Linked DNA regions of Homo sapiens: regions 1 and 2 are each linked to region 3. The links are contacts of gene promoters, found by promoter capture Hi-C in blood cells and fetal thymus (Javierre and others, 2016). All regions are on one chromosome and are shown on one strand. Each heading gives the region's core, a stretch centred on a gene start or on the middle of the fragment in contact. The rest is flanking DNA. Distances are from core to core; before and after follow the strand shown.

The links. Contacts are between HindIII fragments. The CHiCAGO score rates a contact against its expected background, and 5 or more counts as called.
Region 1: a contact is called between a fragment that was not itself captured here and the fragment with the promoter of NEUROD4 in region 3, in 1 of 17 cell types (non-activated CD4 T cells). The highest score is 5.1, in non-activated CD4 T cells.
Region 2: a fragment that was not itself captured here is called in contact with the fragment with the promoter of NEUROD4 in region 3 in 2 of 17 cell types (activated CD4 T cells and naive CD4 T cells); the score reaches 8.1 in activated CD4 T cells.

The regions. Positions count from the first base shown.
Region 1 is chr12:54,869,002-54,872,205 of GRCh38, reverse strand. No RefSeq gene overlaps it. Among named protein-coding and RNA genes, the nearest start is that of MUCL1, 16 kb to the right of the region's middle. The HindIII fragment of the contact is 993 bases long and covers 1,401-2,393 here.
Region 2 is chr12:54,776,260-54,779,372 of GRCh38, reverse strand. No RefSeq gene overlaps it. Among named protein-coding and RNA genes, the nearest start is that of MUCL1, 77 kb to the left of the region's middle. The HindIII fragment of the contact is 157 bases long and covers 1,283-1,439 here.
Region 3 is chr12:55,018,542-55,021,337 of GRCh38, reverse strand. It overlaps NEUROD4 (neuronal differentiation 4), which reads right to left and starts at 1,364. Exons shown (of 2, transcript NM_021191.3): 1 at 1,025-1,364. The HindIII fragment of the contact is 8,784 bases long and covers 1-2,119 here.

The DNA.
Region 1 (3,204 bases), core at 648-3,147, 150 kb after region 3:
CATATGCCTATGATGTTATTAAATGTTACTATTGTTAGCATTATTAACAGTTTAAGAATTGCCCTCAATATCCCCTCTTTTATGCTTAAATTTCTTTAAATAATGCAATGATGTGTTTGTCCCACTCTATTCACTTTCAATGCCATTGCCACACTTTCAACAAACAGCATATGAGAAAGCATAGCAAAGAGACCTGCATTTACAGATAGCCAAAACTCATACAACCTGAAATCTAGTGAGGATCAAGGTGGATATTTCCAAGTAAATAATTATAAATTTATTTTAACATTCCTAATGTAACACACAGTTTCTGCGTAACAAAATTAAATCATTTGCTTAAGATCGTATAACAAAAGCTAAAATACAGGGTTCTCCATTTACTAACTGTGTAACTTTGTAAAATTTATTTAAGGATTAACCTTCTAGTTCCCCAATTGTAAAATGGGAATATTAATAAAATATCATATTTTAAATAATCTATTAAAGTTAGAGTCAATCCTCATTATTCATAGGTTGCATATCTGCACATCTGTCTACTTGCTAAAGCTTATTTCTAAGCCCAAAGTCAATACTCAGTGTACTTTCATGGTCCTTTATGGACATGCAGAGCTGGTGAAAACTTTGTCACCGATGTGCATGTTTCCAGCTGAGGATGAACAAGGCAATGCTCTGCCTCCTTGTTTCAGTTCTCATACTGTAAAGTTTTGTTAGTGAGTGATCTACTCAGTGCCATGTTTTCATATTTTTATTAATTTTCTTGATGATTTCACTGTTTAAAATGTCTTGCAAGCATAGTACTGAAGTGCTGTCCAGTGTTCCAAAGTACAAAAACACTGTGATGTGCCATAGGGAAAAAATATGTGGGTTAGATAAACATCATTGAGACATGAATTATAACGCTGTTGGACATGAGTTCAATGTTAATAAATCAGAATATATATTAAATAGAATAACTTTAAAACAGAAACACACATTATTTTAATAAAGTTTTGCTTTGATCAGTTGACAAAAATGTGCCAGAGGCTTTCAGGAATATAACCCTTTACTATGCTAAGAACAATGGTTCATTAGGCACAAATTCAGAGTTTGTGGAGACTTTTTAGAACATAACTCCTGCAAATATTGATAATTGACTATACATATAAAAAGAACCTAAAATATTTCTGGATCTCCATAACTAGTAGATGTCATCATCTTCTTAACCATCATTAACGTAATTAAATAAATTCAAGAGTTTGGCCTAAGGTTAGAAAGACTGGCTTAGAGATAAACGGAAGATATACTAAACTAGCACATAGTCAAGTATTCTAAAATGGAAAACTGTTCAGCTTGAGTCTAAGGGAATCATCAAAAGATGAGTCACAGGACTATTGGGCCACCACCTGTTTGTAAAGGAAGCTTCATTGGAACGTAGTCACACCCATCTGTTTACCTATTGTCTACAGCTGCACTACAATAGCGATGTTGACTAGTTCCGACAGAATATATGCCCCCATAAAGTCTGTCTGCTCATTTAAAGTTTGCTGACTCCTGGTCTACAGGGAAAAAAAATTATCTTTATATACAAGGTAGAGCTTTAGAATTAGAAAAATCCTTAGCACTCTTTAAAATGCCAAAGTGTAGACAAAATATCTGCTGTTTTCCTCTCTTACTGGGATAAAATTCCAAAAACCAAGCACATCTATCTCAGGATGTGTGAATGTATGTTTGTATGTGTATGTATCTTTCCCACAGACTATCATGTCCATAACAGAGATGGGGGAAAGAGGACAAAAGAAATAGTGGCTCCAAGTTGCAATCCACACTTTGAAAATGTAGGATACATACAGTATAACTTGATTATTTTTTATTGTCCTTCATACGCAAATGACTGGTTACTTTTTGGCTCATATCAGTAAGGCACTGCTTAATTTCCTGAGCAGCCTGATGTTGAGTGGCATGCTGGATCAAACTTCACATGAGCACTCTTCTGTTCAAATATTTATCCTGCTGCTTTCAGGAGTTTCTATATCAGTGTTTCAGTATTCCACAAACTGTGAGACTACAAATTCTCTGATTCAAGTCAACTCCATTAAGGTTATTGGGACAGAAATTGTTAAGGAAGATGAACTGACATTCACTCTCACTTCACCCACCAGATAATAAAACTTCCAAGACTTCTTCAATCCTTATTATAATTATTGACTGAATATTGCCAACTTAGCACATCCACACTCCTTCACCGCTGTGAAAGGTTTATTACAAATGGAAAAAGAATAAATGATTTGGTAGATAGATGAGGTGAAATGTAGAGAAAATAATTATTTTAAGAATGGAAAAATATGAGAATACTTATATGCTTAGTGAATGGTGCAAGCGAAAGGTGTCAAAGGGCTTAATTAGTATAACAAGCTTACTAAAGACAGGTGAGGAGAAAGAACTCAGTGGAAAAAAAGATATATCAAGCTCATGTAATTTCTCCACTAGAAGTCATATCCTCAAAAAAAGGTTTAATATGACTGCTGTCACACAAATATTTTAGTTAAAGGAGTCACAGCTTGGTAGTGACTAGCCACCGAAGTTGAAGTCTGACCAGCAGGTGACAAAAAGTAGGGCTCACCGCAAATCCAAACACCTGTGTTCTAGCCTTCAGCTCTCAGGTTGAGTTGTTGGTTCTTCAAATGGTTGTTTCTCTGCAAACAATTCTTATCGGGTTGAACCATCCTATTGCACATGAGAGCTAAAGTTTCTTCCTAGTACCTGTATTTCTCTAGTGTTAACAAATCTGTGAGCTGGGCCTGGAACCCAGTTTCTATCCTTTTCCTCAGCAGTAGAGCTGTCCTGCCACACTTTATCATGAAGTCCTTGCCATTCCTGATATCAATGGGCATGACAATCTCCTAGTAAATAGCCATATGTCCAAATAGTACCCCAAAATTGAATTTTAAAATTTTTAATCAAGCATATTTGAAGGAGACTTAATTAATTGAAGGAGGGTGGATTGATGTTAATTATGTCTTTCAGTTACTGGTCTCATTATTCTCTCTAACCACATACTTTGTGTTGTGCCCACCCTCAAGCCAAAGACAGATTTACAATTTAGATCCAAGTTTAGCCTTCTTATATTGAGTCTAAATGGAGAAGGATTGTTAGCCATCCAAATAAACTTCCTTTGTGAGGACTGAATTTAACTGGGCATTTGAATCCTTCCTGATGGCATAGGAA
Region 2 (3,113 bases), core at 112-2,611, 240 kb after region 3:
GGTGCAGAGGTGAGTTCAATTCCTGGACATCCTTGTTAACTTTCTGTCTCGTTGATCTGTCTAATGTTGACAGTGGGGTGTTAAAGTCTCCCATTATTATTGTGTGGGAGTCTAAGTCTCTTTGTAAGTCTTTAAGGACTTGCTTTGTGAATCTGGGTGCTCCTGTATTGGGTGCATATATATTTAGGATAGTTAGCTCTTCTTGTTGCATTGATCCCTTTACCATTATGTAATGGCCTTCTTTGTCTCTTTTGATCTTTGCTGGTTTAAAGTCTATTTTTTCAGAGACTAGGATTGCAACCCCTGCCTTTTTTTGTTTTCCATTTGCTTGGTAGATCTTCCTCCATCCCTTTATTTTGAGCCTCTGTGTGTCTCTGCACATGAGATGGGTCTCCTGAATACAGCACACTGATGGGTCTTGACTCTTTATCCAATTTGCCAGTCTGTGTCTTTTAATTGGAGCATTTAGCCCATTTGCATTTAAGGTTAATATTATGTGTGAATTTGATCCTGTCATTATGATGTTAGCTGGTTATTTTGCTCATTAGTTAATGCAATTTCTTCCTAGTTTCGATGGCCTTTACAATTTGGTAAGTTTTTGCAGTGGCTGGTAACGGTTGTTCCTTTCCATGCTTAGTGCTTCCTTCAGGAGCTCTTGTAAGGCAAGCCTGGTGATGACAAAATCCCTCAGCATTTGCTTGTCTGTAAAGGATTTTATTTCTCCTTCACTTATGAAGCTTAGTTTGGCTGGATATGAAATTCTGGGTTGAAAATTCTTTTCTTTAAGAATGTTGAATTTTGGCCCCCACTCTCTTCTGGCTTGCAGAGTTTCTGCCGAGAGATCCGCTGTTAGTCTGATGGGCTTCCCCTTGTGGGTAACCCAACCTTTCTCTCTGGCTGCTGTTAACATTTTTTCCTTGATTTCAACTTCAGTGAATCTGACAATTATGTGTCTTGGAGTTGCTCTTCTCGAGGAGTATCTTTGTGGTGTTCTCTGTATTTCCTGAATTTGAATGTTGGCCTGCCTTGCTAGGTAGGGGAAGTTCTCCTGCGTAATATCCTGCAGAGTGTTTTCCAACTTGATTTCATTCTCCCTGTCACTTGCAGGTACACCAATCAGGCATAGATTTGGTCTTTTCCCATAGTCCCATATTTCTTGGAGGCTTTGTTCATTTCTTTTTACTCTTCTTTCTCTAAACTTCTCTTCTCACTTCATTTCATTCATTTGATCTCCAATCACTGATACCCTTTCTTCTAGTTGGTTGAATTGGCTACTGAAGCTTGTGCATTCATCACGTAGTTCTTATGCCATGGCTTTCAGCTTCTTTTAAGGACTTCTCTACACTGGTTATTCTAGTTAGCCATTCGTCTAATCTTTTTTCAAGGTTTTTGTCTTCTTTGCAATGGTTTCGATCTTCCTCCTTTAGCTCGGAGAAGCTTGATCATCTGAAGCCTTCTTCTCTCAATTCATCAAAGCCATTCTCCATCCAGCTTTGTTCTGTTGCTGGTGAGGAGCTGCACTCCTTTTGAAGGGGAGGGGCGCTCTGATTTTTAGAATTTTCAGCTTTTCTGCTCTGCTTTTTCCCCATCTTTGTGGTTTTATCTACCTTTGGTCTTTGATGATGGTGATGTACAGATGTGGTTTTGGTGTGGATGTCCTGTTTGTTAGTTTTCCTTCTAACAGTCAGGACCCTTAGCTGCAGGTCTGTTGGAGTTTGCTGGAGGTCCACTCCAGACCCTGTTTGCCTGTTTATCAGCAGTGGAGGCTGCAGAACAGTGAATATTGCTGAACAGCAAATGTTGCTGCCTGATCGTTCCTCTGGAATCTTCATCTCAGAGGGGTACCCGGCCGTGTGAGGTGTCAGCCTGCCCCTACTGGGGGGTGCCTCCCAGTTAGGCTACTTGGGGGTCAAGGACCCACTTGTGGAGGCAGTCTGTCCATTCTCAGTTCTCAGATTCCATGCTGGGAGAACCACTACTCTCTTCAAAGCTTTCAGACAGGGACATTTAAGCCTGCAGAGGTTTCTGCTGCCTTTTGTTGGGCTATGCCCTGCCCCCAGAGGTGGAGTCTACAGAGGCAGGCAGGCCTCCTTGAGCTGTGGTGGGCTCCACCCAGTTAGAGCTACCCAGCCACTTTGTTTTCCTACTCAAGCCTCAGCAATAAAGAGCACCCCTCCCCCAGCCTTGCTGCAGACTTGCAGTTCGATCTCAGACTGCTCTGTGAACAATGAGTGAGGTTCTGTGGGCATGGGACCCTCTGATCCAGGTGCAGGATATAATCTCCTGGTATGCCCTTTGCTAAGACCACTGGAAAAGTGCAGTATTAGGGTGGGAGTGACCCAATTTTCCAGGTGCGGTCTGTCACAGCTTCCCTTGGCTAGGAAAGGGAATTCCCTGACCCCTTGTGCTTCCTGGGTGAGGCAATGCCTCAGCCTGCTTCAGCTCATGGTCGGTGGGCTGCACCCACTGTTCTGCACCCATTGTCCAACAAGCTCCAGTGAGATGAACCCAGTACCTCAGCTGGAAATGCAGAAATCACCCATCTTCTGCATCACTCACACTGGGAGCTGTAGACTGGAGCTGTTCCTATTTAGCCATCTTGGAACTGCCCCAGGCTCTTTTTCATAAAGGCATCAGTAGAATTTTCATGTCCCTGATAGATACCAGACAGCTGGTTTAATTGATAGACATAACAGTCTCCTCAAACAATCCTTTTTCAAATTTCTTCCCATAAAATGGACCGTGGAATGTGTCTCTATATTGCCCCAGGCCTTAATCTCCCTTAAATCAAGGACGTTTCAGTGACTCACGTCTCACACCAATTTTTTAAAAACTTTCCCATTGCCCTTTCCTACATTTAAAGGGGGGATATATCTCCCCTTCACATATATAAATATTCATTACACGTGAGACTCCTAAATATATCTTCCTCATACTTATAAATGTTTAATCTTGCCTCTATCCCATAAATGCTGGAGGCCAATTCAAAGGTGTGTAGTCTTCCCAGGACCTATTTGAGTCTAAATTCTCACCACCTCTACCACAAAAAAAAAAAAAGAAAGAAAAAGAAAAAACACTGTCAAGTGCAGCTGTACACCATTTTGTTAACTGTG
Region 3 (2,796 bases), core at 115-2,614:
TCTTTTCCCAGAGTTGCACAGTCTTGGCACTAAAAAGACAGAATCCAAATCAGGATGTTCACAAGTTGTACTGCTTGGAAAAAGCCAGTAGTTTGCTCTATGCTCTTCTTTTCTACTCTACTATTTTCCCCTTTATTAATATATGTGCACATGTATGTACATGCATGCACATACACACACATTTTGTCCAGCAAAGCCATGTAATACTTCAGGTGCCATTGCCTCAGATCTTAATAGTTAACAGAAGTTATTCAGTCCCTTATTTTTCCCTGCATGTTCTTCAGCATTTCACCTCTGCTTCCTCTGTCAAAAAAATGGGGGTGGGTATTTTACATTTAATTAGTATTTTCTGAGTATACTTTTTTTGCGGGCAAATGATGAGTGTGAAGCAGAGAAAGGAAAAATATACTTGGACAATCTTTTTCTTCTAATTTCCCATCTGAAAGAGCTGAGGAAAAGGAAATTTCCCCCACCCTGTGCCAACTATTCAAGCATTTTTAGTAAACAAAATAGTTAATGGTGAGAATCTACCCCGAGGATTTTCCACAATCTTCTCTGATTCCTCATTCTGTTTTCCTTTCCCTGCCTCCCCCTCCGTCCTTGCATAGCCCTAAAATGCTGTGAGCAGAGTGGTGGATTGGGTCAATTCTTCCAACCTACTTGCTGGGCCACCTTGGAAAAGCAGTTAAACTTTTCGACATTTTCACCACTAACAAAATGAAAGAGTGGCTTTGACAGGAATTGGGGGAGATCATCTGTATTCTTCACTTTATTAAAATGATTGTGAGTGTCTATGTGTTTCACTTTGGGTGGCAAGTGCTATAAAATTTAATAAAATTATTTAAAATGTTTATATTTGTCCCTAAGTGTTCCAACTCACTAGCTTCTACATTCCAAGTTTCCTAAATCTCACTTCCTCCTGCCTTACCCAGAAGAGACTTTCCTCACCCCAACTGCTCCTCTAGGTGAGTGGGAACTTCCCACAGAAACTTTAGCCCCCTTACCACCCCAACCACTGGCTCACCTCGGTCACTGGCCGTTCCTGGAGTGAACTCTGTGAATCTGCGTCTTAGAGGACAGTCAGAGAAGCCAAGTCTCCCTGACCATCCAGATGGTAGAAGAGACGCTTTCAGCGATCCATGTCAAACCCGGTTGTTACCTCTTAGAGATTCCACCGGGTCTGGTTTCTCTGCCTGCTCCTTATTCTACTCCTTCCTTGGAGTTCCGTATGCTCCTCAAGGACGCCTTCGGGCTGATCTCTCCGCTGCAGCCAGTTTAGTCGCTCTTCAGTACCTCCTCTCCCTGGTTAGCTCCCCGGAGAGGAGCTTTCAGGACCACAAGCCTCTGGGCAGCTCCTGCTCTCTGGCCGGAGCCTCTGACTTGCTGCAGTTTTGATTGCTCTCCCAGCTGACCAGGGAGGAGTGATGTTGCCCAGAGTCTAACTCCTCCCTTTTCCCCAGCCGAAAGACACGCCCACTTGAAAGGCTCCTCCGGCCAGGTCCAGTTTTGCCGCCCGTTTGTTTGTTTAAATAGAGATGGGGGTTGGTGGAAGGGGAGCAGGGGAGGAGAGTTGCTGAAGTTAAGGAGTAAAGAAAAAGAGGACTGGAAACCTTTGTGATTAAAAAGATAAGAAATGGGAGCGGAGTAGTGTGGACAGAATGGAGAAAGAAAATTGGGGATAGACTTGGAGAGAGAGCTAAAAAGGGCAGATGACGCTGCTGACCCACGTCTGAAAAGAATCAAAAGGTGAGAAAGATGCGTGTCAAGGACACAGCATCAGTGGCTGCTTCCTTACACATGTGGACTGGGGTCTTTGGCTTATAAACTTCAGCGTTCTAAAAGTAGAAGGAAGAAGTATGTCTCTCCCACCTTTTCAGCACGTCAAAGCTACTCTCATTAAAACTTTTAATTTGTGAATTTAGGTGAAGCTATATTTGTTGTGCTATTCTTTCAACTTTCTGATCACTTTAAATTTATAAAAACAAAAAGGAAATTAATAAAATCCTTCATTTTAAGGGCAGTTAGTTCCTTGAGTTACAAACTGAGATCTACTATTGTTTTTCAAAAATACATCATTAAGCATTCACGTAGAAAAAGTCCACCTGAGTAGTAATAAGCTTAGAAGAAGAGAAGGCTCATAATAATTCCTAAAACTCCTTTGGTATTAGGAGGTTGAATTAAATTGCTAGAAGACAGAAAGAAAACTACATCTGGAATAATTTAAGTATATAGATATTCATACTATCTTATTTAAAACTACACCAAGGAAAAATAAATGATTGTGAACTTAAGATACCAAAGATTTTCTAATCATCTTGTGTTTCCAAGAAGGAAAAAGAAAGGTGCTCAGATTAAGCAATTGGCTGAATGATCTTGAATAAGTCAACTTCACTCTGGGCATCAGTTTTCATATCTGTAAAATGAGTTTTTCCATCAGTAGCCTGATAGAGTTACGAATCCAAGTTCAACTTCTTTTAGAAATTGACTTGAAGGATAATTCCTCAGGCGTTTTGGCAAAAGGCAAAACATTTATACAATCTGAAAAGAAACCAGAGTATCCCCAGCTTTTTGAGAATCGCGTGGTCTAACAACATAACTAGCACATGCGTCAAACAGAAATGAAAAACTATTAATATGCCTGTGTGCAAGGAAAACTGTAGAGGGCTGAAACAAAAGATAGTTTCACTGCTCATAAAGTTGAAAAGAGTATCTTAAGTTTGAAAATAGTTATTTTTAATTCTGATATGTGTCATATGACTCTTGTTTTTCACAGAAAACAAGAAAATAAAAATTAAC